Linked DNA regions of Homo sapiens: region 1 is linked to region 2. The links are contacts of gene promoters, found by promoter capture Hi-C in blood cells and fetal thymus (Javierre and others, 2016). All regions are on one chromosome and are shown on one strand. Each heading gives the region's core, a stretch centred on a gene start or on the middle of the fragment in contact. The rest is flanking DNA. Distances are from core to core; before and after follow the strand shown.

Region 1 (4,193 bases), core at 1,197-3,696, 50 kb after region 2:
CACCCCATTTCCAGATTCCCTTCAGGGTTGTCTGAAGCCTTCACGGAGGCTGCCTCAAAGCTCAATATCCTTCCTGCCTAATTCTGTACTTTTCCCTTCCCCGGATGCCAGTCCTAAGAGAACCCCTTGACAGATCTCCTGCACAGTCTCCTCCCTCTCTGAGTCTGCTTCCTGGGGCACCCACCCCTCCACCCTCCGGCAGGAGAAGGGATCAGAGACAGTACAGAGTGGAGGAGGGGATGGGCTCTCTAAGTCAGATGGAGCGAGCTCACGGCCTGCACTGGGTGGTGACGGAAGAGACCCAGGCAAGGAGGGCGCCTGTCAGGGCTAAATCATGTCCCCACAAACGATGTTAAACCTCCAAAAGATCATGTCCTAACCCCCAATGCCTGCAAATGCCATCTTATTTGGAAACAGGGTCTTTGCAGATAATCAAGTCAAGATGAGGTTCTTAGGGTGGGCCCTAAACCAAGATGACTAGTGTCTTCATGAAAAGGGAAATTTGGACACAGACACACAGGAGAGCACACGTGAGGATGAAGGTGGAGATCAGAGGGATGCGTCTACAAGTCGAGGATCACTGCAGATTGTGGAGAACCACCGGGAGCTGGGGAGAGGCCTGGGGCAGGTTCTCTGCCCCCAGAAGGAACCAACCCTACCAACACCTTGATCTTGGACCTCTGGCCTCCAGCCCCATGAGGCCATACATTTCTGTTGTTTAAGTTGCCCTGTTTGTGGTACTTTGTCGTGGCAGGCCCAGCATACTAATATAGGACCCAAGAGGTAGCTGGGGAAAGATTGGGCAAACTGTGTGCATGGCATCATTACTCAGGTCAAAAATTTGAAATGAAGCTCAAACTTAAAAATATTGGTAAGTATGAAAAAAAAAGCATGATAAAAAAAAAAAAAAGAAAAGCTATTGCTGCTAAAGGAAGAAGGGTAGGGTTTCCCCACCTCCATCAGCTTGCAAAAATGAGGCTGGTGACGTGGCTGTGGGTCTCATTTCCTGCACGGCCTGTTGGGGTTTGTGTAGTTTCTGGGCACTCAGCTTGAGAGGCTGACCTCCCAAAGGCATTGGGAGCCTGCGGGAGCCAGCCAGGGGGAGCACAGCTGTGCAGCCATGCCTGTTTGTCCTGACCCTACAGCAGGACGCAGGCGCCCCACCACCCAGAACCCCAGAACCGGATGTAGGAGGTGGTGAGAGCTGCATTGGTTGATTTCCTATTTTCTTCCTTCCTATTTTTTTTTTTTTAATTTTTTAGAGCAAGGTCTTGCTCTGTTGCCCACGCTGGAGTGCAGTGGTTCAATCATAGCTCACTGCAGCCTCTACCTCCCGGGCTCAAGCAATCCTCCTGCCTTAGCCTCCTGAGTAGCTGAGACCACAGATGCATGCCACCATGCTCGGCTAATTTTTAATTTTTTTTTTTTTTTTTGTAGAAAAGGGGGGTCTTGCTATGTGGCTCAGGCTGGTCTCAAACTCTGAAGCTCAAGTGATCCTCCCACGTTGGCTGCCCAAAGTGTGGGGATTATAGGCGTGAGGCACCGCACCTGGCCTGATCTCCTATTTCAGTAATGTATCACCTCCTGTGCAAAGAAGGAAGATTGTTGCAAATTAAACATAAAAACATGAAAGCTTTTCAAGCTGGGTATCTAAGTAGCCTTTTCATTCCCACCAACTCCATGACAGATTCCTATATGTGTTGTGCATAACCATTATTAAAATAACAATATCGCCCTGTTGGAAGAATTCAGAATGTCACTAGAACATTCTAAAGATAAAGGCCAAAAAAAACCCAAACCCCCCCCCCACACACACAAAAAACACAACCAAGCTTTATCTTTGGAACAGAATAAGGTTAAAAAAAATTAAAATAATCACAAAGGTATGATTTAATCTTTACAATGTTATAAATATTAATATGAAAAAGACTTTATATTGGGAAACATTATTATACAGTATAACGCTAATTTTATGAAAATCAATTCATTTAGTGCTCATACATTTTTTACCTCTCTCTTTGGCTTTTGCTGACGATTTACGTCTTATCATTTTCTACTTCAACACCTACCACCTTGCACTGGGGTACAGTGCAGGATTTGGACATCACAATTTTTTCTTCAGTAATGCCCCAAGGTTTCCCACAGATAAGAGGAGAAGGTTGGCCAGGTGTGGTGGCTCATACCTGTAATGGCAGCACTTTGGAAGGCTGAGGTGGGAGGATCACTTGAGCCTGGGTGTTTGAAATCAGTCTGGGTAACATAATGAGACCTCATCTCTATTAAAATTAAAAAACTAGCCAGGCATGGTGGTGAACACCTATAGTCCCAGCTACTCGGGAGGCTGAGGCAGGAGGATCACTTGAGCCCAGGAGGTTGAGGCTGCAGTGAGCCATGATTGTACCACTGCACTCCAGTCTGGGCCCCAGAGCAAGATCCTATCTCAAAAACAGCAACAACAAAAGAATAGGATGTTGCCAAAATAGGACAAACAACTGAGCTGAACGTTGGATGTTTTTAATCATAAGCATGGCTTGATTTACATCACTCCCTTCAGAAATGCAAAGGCTTCAGACATCGAGCCAAAGGCAAAACCATTGCAGGTATGTGGGGCCGGGAGAGCCCCAGCGAAGTCAGCTTGGTGCCCACTCCAGGCAGGCACAGGGCCAGCCCTGCTATGCTCCTTATCTCCTTTAATCCCCTAGCAACCCCAGAAGGTAGGTTTGTGATGATCCACACTCTGCAGATGAGGAAACTGAGGTTCAAGAGAGTTACTAACTTGCCCCTGGACATGCCCCTGGGAAGTGGCCGGGATGAGTTGGAAACCCATATCTACTTAGCTCCATGGTCCGGCTCTGTGTGCACTAAGACATCAATTACCCCCCGGGACTGGAAACCAGAAGGAGGCGGGCAATAGGTTGTGTTTGCTGACGGATCCCACCCAGAACTGATCCTACTGGATCTCCCTTAGGGAGACTCAGGAATCCTCACTACAGTGAATTACATGCACAGTTTTGGTGGCCAGAGGGGCATTTAGATGATGGCTACAGGAGTGCTTTTTTGAAAGCTTCATTAACTATACAAGTCAATACCCTATTGCAATTTCCATGAAATGGGTAATTCGGTGAAGTTCTTTTTTAACAAAATGTTGCATCAATGAGGGAATTCAGGGTGGGAGATCAACAGGAAGTTACAGTTGGAACCAATTTCAACCCACATAGAAAGATCCGGAAGCCTTGCAAGGAGACCATCACAGTAATCCGGCGTGAGAGTGCCGAGGCGTAGCTGCTGGAATCATCGCCCATTTTTCTAATTTGCAGCCTAGGAGCTGATCGTGCAACCCTGTTAGGGAGCTAATATAGGATGAAGATGGGACAAGTTGGTGTCGAGAGTAACACGCCGGCTCCTTAGCGGAGGTCTGAAGAACAATCGAGTTGAATTAATTTCTAAGAGACCCCATGACAGATTCTTGATGATGATCCCCAATTAGGGAAACCTCGGTTTCGTTTTTGTTTAATGTCAGGAAGTTAAGAGGCTGTGGGCGGATGGCTGTGAAAGACACGGAGGGTGAAAGCCTTGCCTCTCTTGAAACGTATGGGGCCGTGGCTGCAGGTCCTTTCATGCCTTCTCCAAAGAGGAAGTCGTGAAATCTGTGTGTCTCAGCCCATGTCCAAAGAGGGAAACGCTGTGATGAGAAGATACAGCGGTTCAACTCATTCTGGAGCCCACAGAGGCTTAAAAGAGGGGGAGAATCTGTTTCATGAAAAAGGGAAAGATTCAGTCTTGAACCAGATGAATGTGCCTGGGTGAAAATGCGTCAGTGGTACCAGAAAATCCAGACAGAATCCTTCCTCTGGGTTTTTCCCAAATCAACAAGTGTCTTTGGTTGCTGGGACGCAGGGAGAGAGCTGTTCATGGAGGAGCGTGGGAGGTCACATTCTTGAGGCCTGTTTAGTTTATCCTGTTAAAAGGAGGAGATGTGAGGCCAGGCACAGTGGCTCACACCTGTAATTCCAGCACTTTGGGAGGCCAAGGCAGGTGGATCACTTGAGGTCAGAGGATTGAGACAAGCCTGGCCAACATGGTGAAATCCCATCTCTACTAAAAATAAAACAAACAAACAAACAGAAACGCCTGGCGTGTTGGCTCACGCCTGTAATCCCAGCACTTTGGGAGGCTGAGGCAGGCGGATCACC
Region 2 (4,036 bases), core at 55-2,554:
CACTTACGGAGAAATTCCTGTCCTCATATCAATTCCCGGCTCCCGGGATTTCCGGCACGCATTATGCACAGGCTGAGCGCTCAATAAATGTGGAATGAACGATCGACTATTTTTCTCCCCTTTCTGGTAGGTTGGTAACCTTATACCTTCAAGACGAGTCATAAATATTAGGAGAAAATGTTTTGAACTACAAATCAAAGGCTTTGAGAGCAGGCCAGGCAGAGAGAGGTCAGTTTGGTCCAAGACCAAGTTTGTGTGGGCAGCCCCGAAGCTCACAGCTGAGACCACTGTCCATGAACCTGGGTCCCCGTGACAGCCTCCAGCGGTGCTCAGAGCCCCCGAGGGACAGAAACACCCTCTCTGCCCCTATCTGCAGAGGGGGCTCAGCAGAAGGCCTGGTGGCCCCATCGGGCCTGGAGGGGCCTCCTGGGGGAGGTGGCTTTCAGGCCTGAGGCCGCTAGGACCTGCTCCGGGTTTCAGTCGGGAACCTGGGCCCTCTCCTGTGCCCCCGCCACCCCCTTTCTAGTACAGTCCCCGCGGGGGGCTGTCCTCTCCCATCTCCCAGCTCCACACCCACTTTTGGTGCGGCTGCCCTTCCTCCCTGAGCCAGGCCCCACCTTCCCAGGAGCCTCTGAGTCAGGCTGGGCTGTGGTCTGCAAACTTCCGGGCCTTTCAGGTGTCAGAAAAGTTTCTCTTCCTCCCTCTGGGGCAGGTGCACCAAGGGGCTGCAGCCTCCTGACCCCCGATTTTTTCCTGTCCAGTAGGAGGAGGTGGGGGCTTTGCTGGGCGGTGATACTCAGAGACGCTCAAAGAGACACGGAGGAGAGGCACACGAGGTGGAAAGTGAGGGAGAAAAAGGGTTGGAAGGGAAAAAGGGGAGAGGAGAGTGAGAGAGAGAAGGGGGGCAGGGGGACAGAGATGGAGAGGGAAGGATACCCCCAGCATCGCGGGACCAGCGGGAGCCACTCCCATCCCCCGACGCCCCCCCCGCCACCGTGTCATCTCACTGATGCCCCCCATCTCCTCCCCGTGCCCTCTTCTCTTCCCCCAACTCCCCGCCTCGTGCTCCCCCTCCGCCAGCTCCCCCATCCCCGCTGCGCCTACCTGGGGCGCTCATGCTCCGCCAGCCAGCTGCGCGGGGCGCCTCCTCCACGCAGGCCTCCGGCTTCCTCCAGGCGACCAGGCCCTCCGTCCCCCCGGGCCCGGAGCCGTCCTCCGAGGGGCGCCGCCCGCCCAGGGGCTGCAGGGCCGGGAGGGGGCTGCGGGCGGCGCGGGCAGGAGTCCGAAGGCCAGAGGAGGCAGGAGAGAAAAAAGGAGAGAAAGTATGTCATAGGCTGGGAGGGGCGGGGGAGGGAAATGCAAAACCCGACAGGAAATGAGACTAAAAAATGCGAAAGGTTAGAAAAAGATAAGGAAGAGAGGGAGGGGGCGGAGTCGGTGCTTCGGGAGGAGGGCGGCAAGGAGGTGGGGGTGGGAGTGGGGACAGGGCCGGGGGTGGGGGTGCTTGGGGACAGATCAGGGAGCCGGAGATGGGGAGACCAAGGCGAGTCTCAGGGCCCAGCCCACCTGCATCAGTCGGGGTGAGGCTGGACCAGTCTGGGCATCAGTCCCCACCCAGCCGTGACCCCCGGCAGAGTCCAGGTGGGGCCTTGGGAGGGGCTCTCTCCCTTCTAGGTTCTCCAGGGCACTGGCTCCCGAGATCTAGCTGAATTTCTGAAGAAATTCCAGAGCCTGTCACTGCAATGGGAGGGGAACGGGGTGCCCCACATCAAATCCTGCAGCCTCCTACACCCCAAGCCTCTTTCCTCCCTCAGCCCCTGTTCTGGAAGCTTCCTGGGCATGCCGGGTGGTCAGCACCCCTTCAAAGGCCTTCCTCACCCCGACAGCTTTGGGGTCCAAGACACCCACCATCAGCTTGTGCCCTCGATGTTCCGGTGAAGTATACTTGTAAGAGAAACTGTGATTTGGATGTCATCATTTTACTTTATTTTTATTTTTTGAGATGGAGTCTCGCTCTGTCACCCAGGCTGGAGTGCAGTGGCACAATCTCAGCTCACTGCAAGCTCCACCTCCTGGGTTCAAGCGATTCTCCCACCTCAGCCTCCCGAGTAGCTGGGACCACAGGCGTGCACCACCAAACTTGGCTAATTTTTGTATTTTTAGTAGAAATGGGGTTTCAACATGATGGCCAGGCTGGCCTCGAACTCCTGACCTCAAGTGATATGCCCACCTCAGCCTCCCAAAGTGCTGGGATTACAGGCATGAGCCTCTGCGCCCAGCTGGATGTCATCATTTTAATAATTTACCCCAAATGGCCATCGTCATGGGTGGGATGGTCCCAAGGGTTTACATGGATTGCAGACTCAAAAATCTGGATGAAAGAAAATGTGATACACACACACACGCCATGCAATACTACTCAGCCATAAAAAAGAACGAAATAAAGTATTTTGCAGCAACTTGGATGGAACTGGAGGCCATTATCCTAAGTGAAGTAACTCAGGAGTGGAAAACCAAATACTACATGTTCTTATTTAAAAGCGAGAGCTAAGCTATGGGTAGGCAAAGGCAGGCAGAGTGGGATCATGGACGTTGGAGACTCAGAAGGGGGAAGAATGGGAGGGGGTAGGGGATGAAAAATCACCTATTGGGTACAATGTATACTGTACAATGTGCACTATTCCAGTGACTGATGCACTAAAAGCCCAGACTTCACCACTATACGCTTCATCCACGTAACCCAAAACCGCAAGTACCCCTAAAGCTATTGAAATAAAAATCTGGATGAGCCATGCCTACCCAGAAAACCTTAGTTTCTATTCTCTTGCTGCAATTGCACTGCCTCCTGCACCGCCCGCCCCCCCGTTGCCCCAGCCTCTGCACCTCTCATTCTACTCTGCCTCAGTTTACCATTCTCCTCTCATCTATCTCCCTCTCTTTTGATCCCCTCATTATGGCTAGAGAATGTAGGCTTCTGTTTCATGTTTTAAGTGTTCTGAGAAAAGTTCCTCGAGCTGCTAGAAGGAAAGGCCTTCAATAAATTAAATTTTCAGCAAGACAATAAATAAAAAATGGGACATTGGTCCAAGCACGGAAGAATCTGAAATACCAGTGAGGAGTCTGTTTGCACTGATGCACATGTGCTAGGGATGAAGGAAGACACGAGTTTGCTTCCTGTAAAGCGTGTTCAGAAATGCAAGCAAGGGCCGTAAAGAAAGTTTCTAAAATGAACACCAAGACCCACAGCCTTCTAACACCAAGACCCACAGCCTTCTAGGCCTTGGTCCCTAAGGATACATCTCACTGCCTACCTGGGACTGGGGAAGCTGCTTGTACTCCATGAAACCTCTAAATCAGGCAGTGGCATTTTATTTATTTATTTATTTATTTGGGATGGAGTCTCACTCTGTTGCCCAGGCTGGAGTGCAGTGGCACGATCTCGGCTCACTGCAACCTCCACCTCCCGGGTTCAAGTGATCGTCCTGCCTCAGCCTCCTGAGTAGCTGGGATTACAGGCACGCACCACCACACCTGGTTAATTTTTGTATTTTTAGTAGAGATGGGGTTTTACCATGTTGGTCAGGCTGGTCTCTAACTCCTGACCTCATGATCCGCCCACCTCGGCCTCCCAAAGTGCTGGGATTACAAGTGTGAGCCCATGCGCCCGGCAAGCATTTTATTTTATTTCATTTTATTATTTTTGAAACAGGGTCTCGCTCTGCTGCCCAGGTTGGAGTACAGTGGCTTGATCAAGGCTCACTGCGGCTTTGACCTCCTTGGCTCAAGCCATCCTCCCGCCTTGGCCTCTCGAGAAGCTGGGACTACAAGTGCACGCCACCACGCCTGGCTAATTTTTTAATTTTCTGTAGAGATGAAGTCTCACTATGTTGCCCAGGCTGGTCTTGAACTCCTGACCTCAAGTGATCCTCTCGCTCAGGCCTCCCAAAGTGTCAGGATTACAGACATGAGCCACGGCATCTGGCCTGTCATTTTAAAGAAGAGCTCAGATTTCCCTCCTGCAAGATACGAAATGAGG

The links. Contacts are between HindIII fragments. The CHiCAGO score rates a contact against its expected background, and 5 or more counts as called.
Region 1: a contact is called between a fragment that was not itself captured here and the fragment with the promoter of CARD11 in region 2, in 1 of 17 cell types (total CD8 T cells). The highest score is 5.4, in total CD8 T cells.

The regions. Positions count from the first base shown.
Region 1 is chr7:3,091,628-3,095,820 of GRCh38, forward strand. LOC105375130 (a long non-coding RNA gene) reads right to left here. Exons shown (of 2, transcript XR_007060191.1): 2 at 2,499-3,958. Among named protein-coding and RNA genes, the nearest start is that of CARD11, 50 kb to the left of the region's middle. The HindIII fragment of the contact is 1,232 bases long and covers 1,831-3,062 here.
Region 2 is chr7:3,042,563-3,046,598 of GRCh38, forward strand. CARD11 (caspase recruitment domain family member 11) reads right to left here and starts at 1,305. Exons shown (of 25, transcript NM_032415.7): 1 at 1,105-1,305. RefSeq lists a silencer at 1,018-1,367 and an enhancer at 1,233-1,527. The HindIII fragment of the contact is 15,618 bases long and covers 1-1,827 here.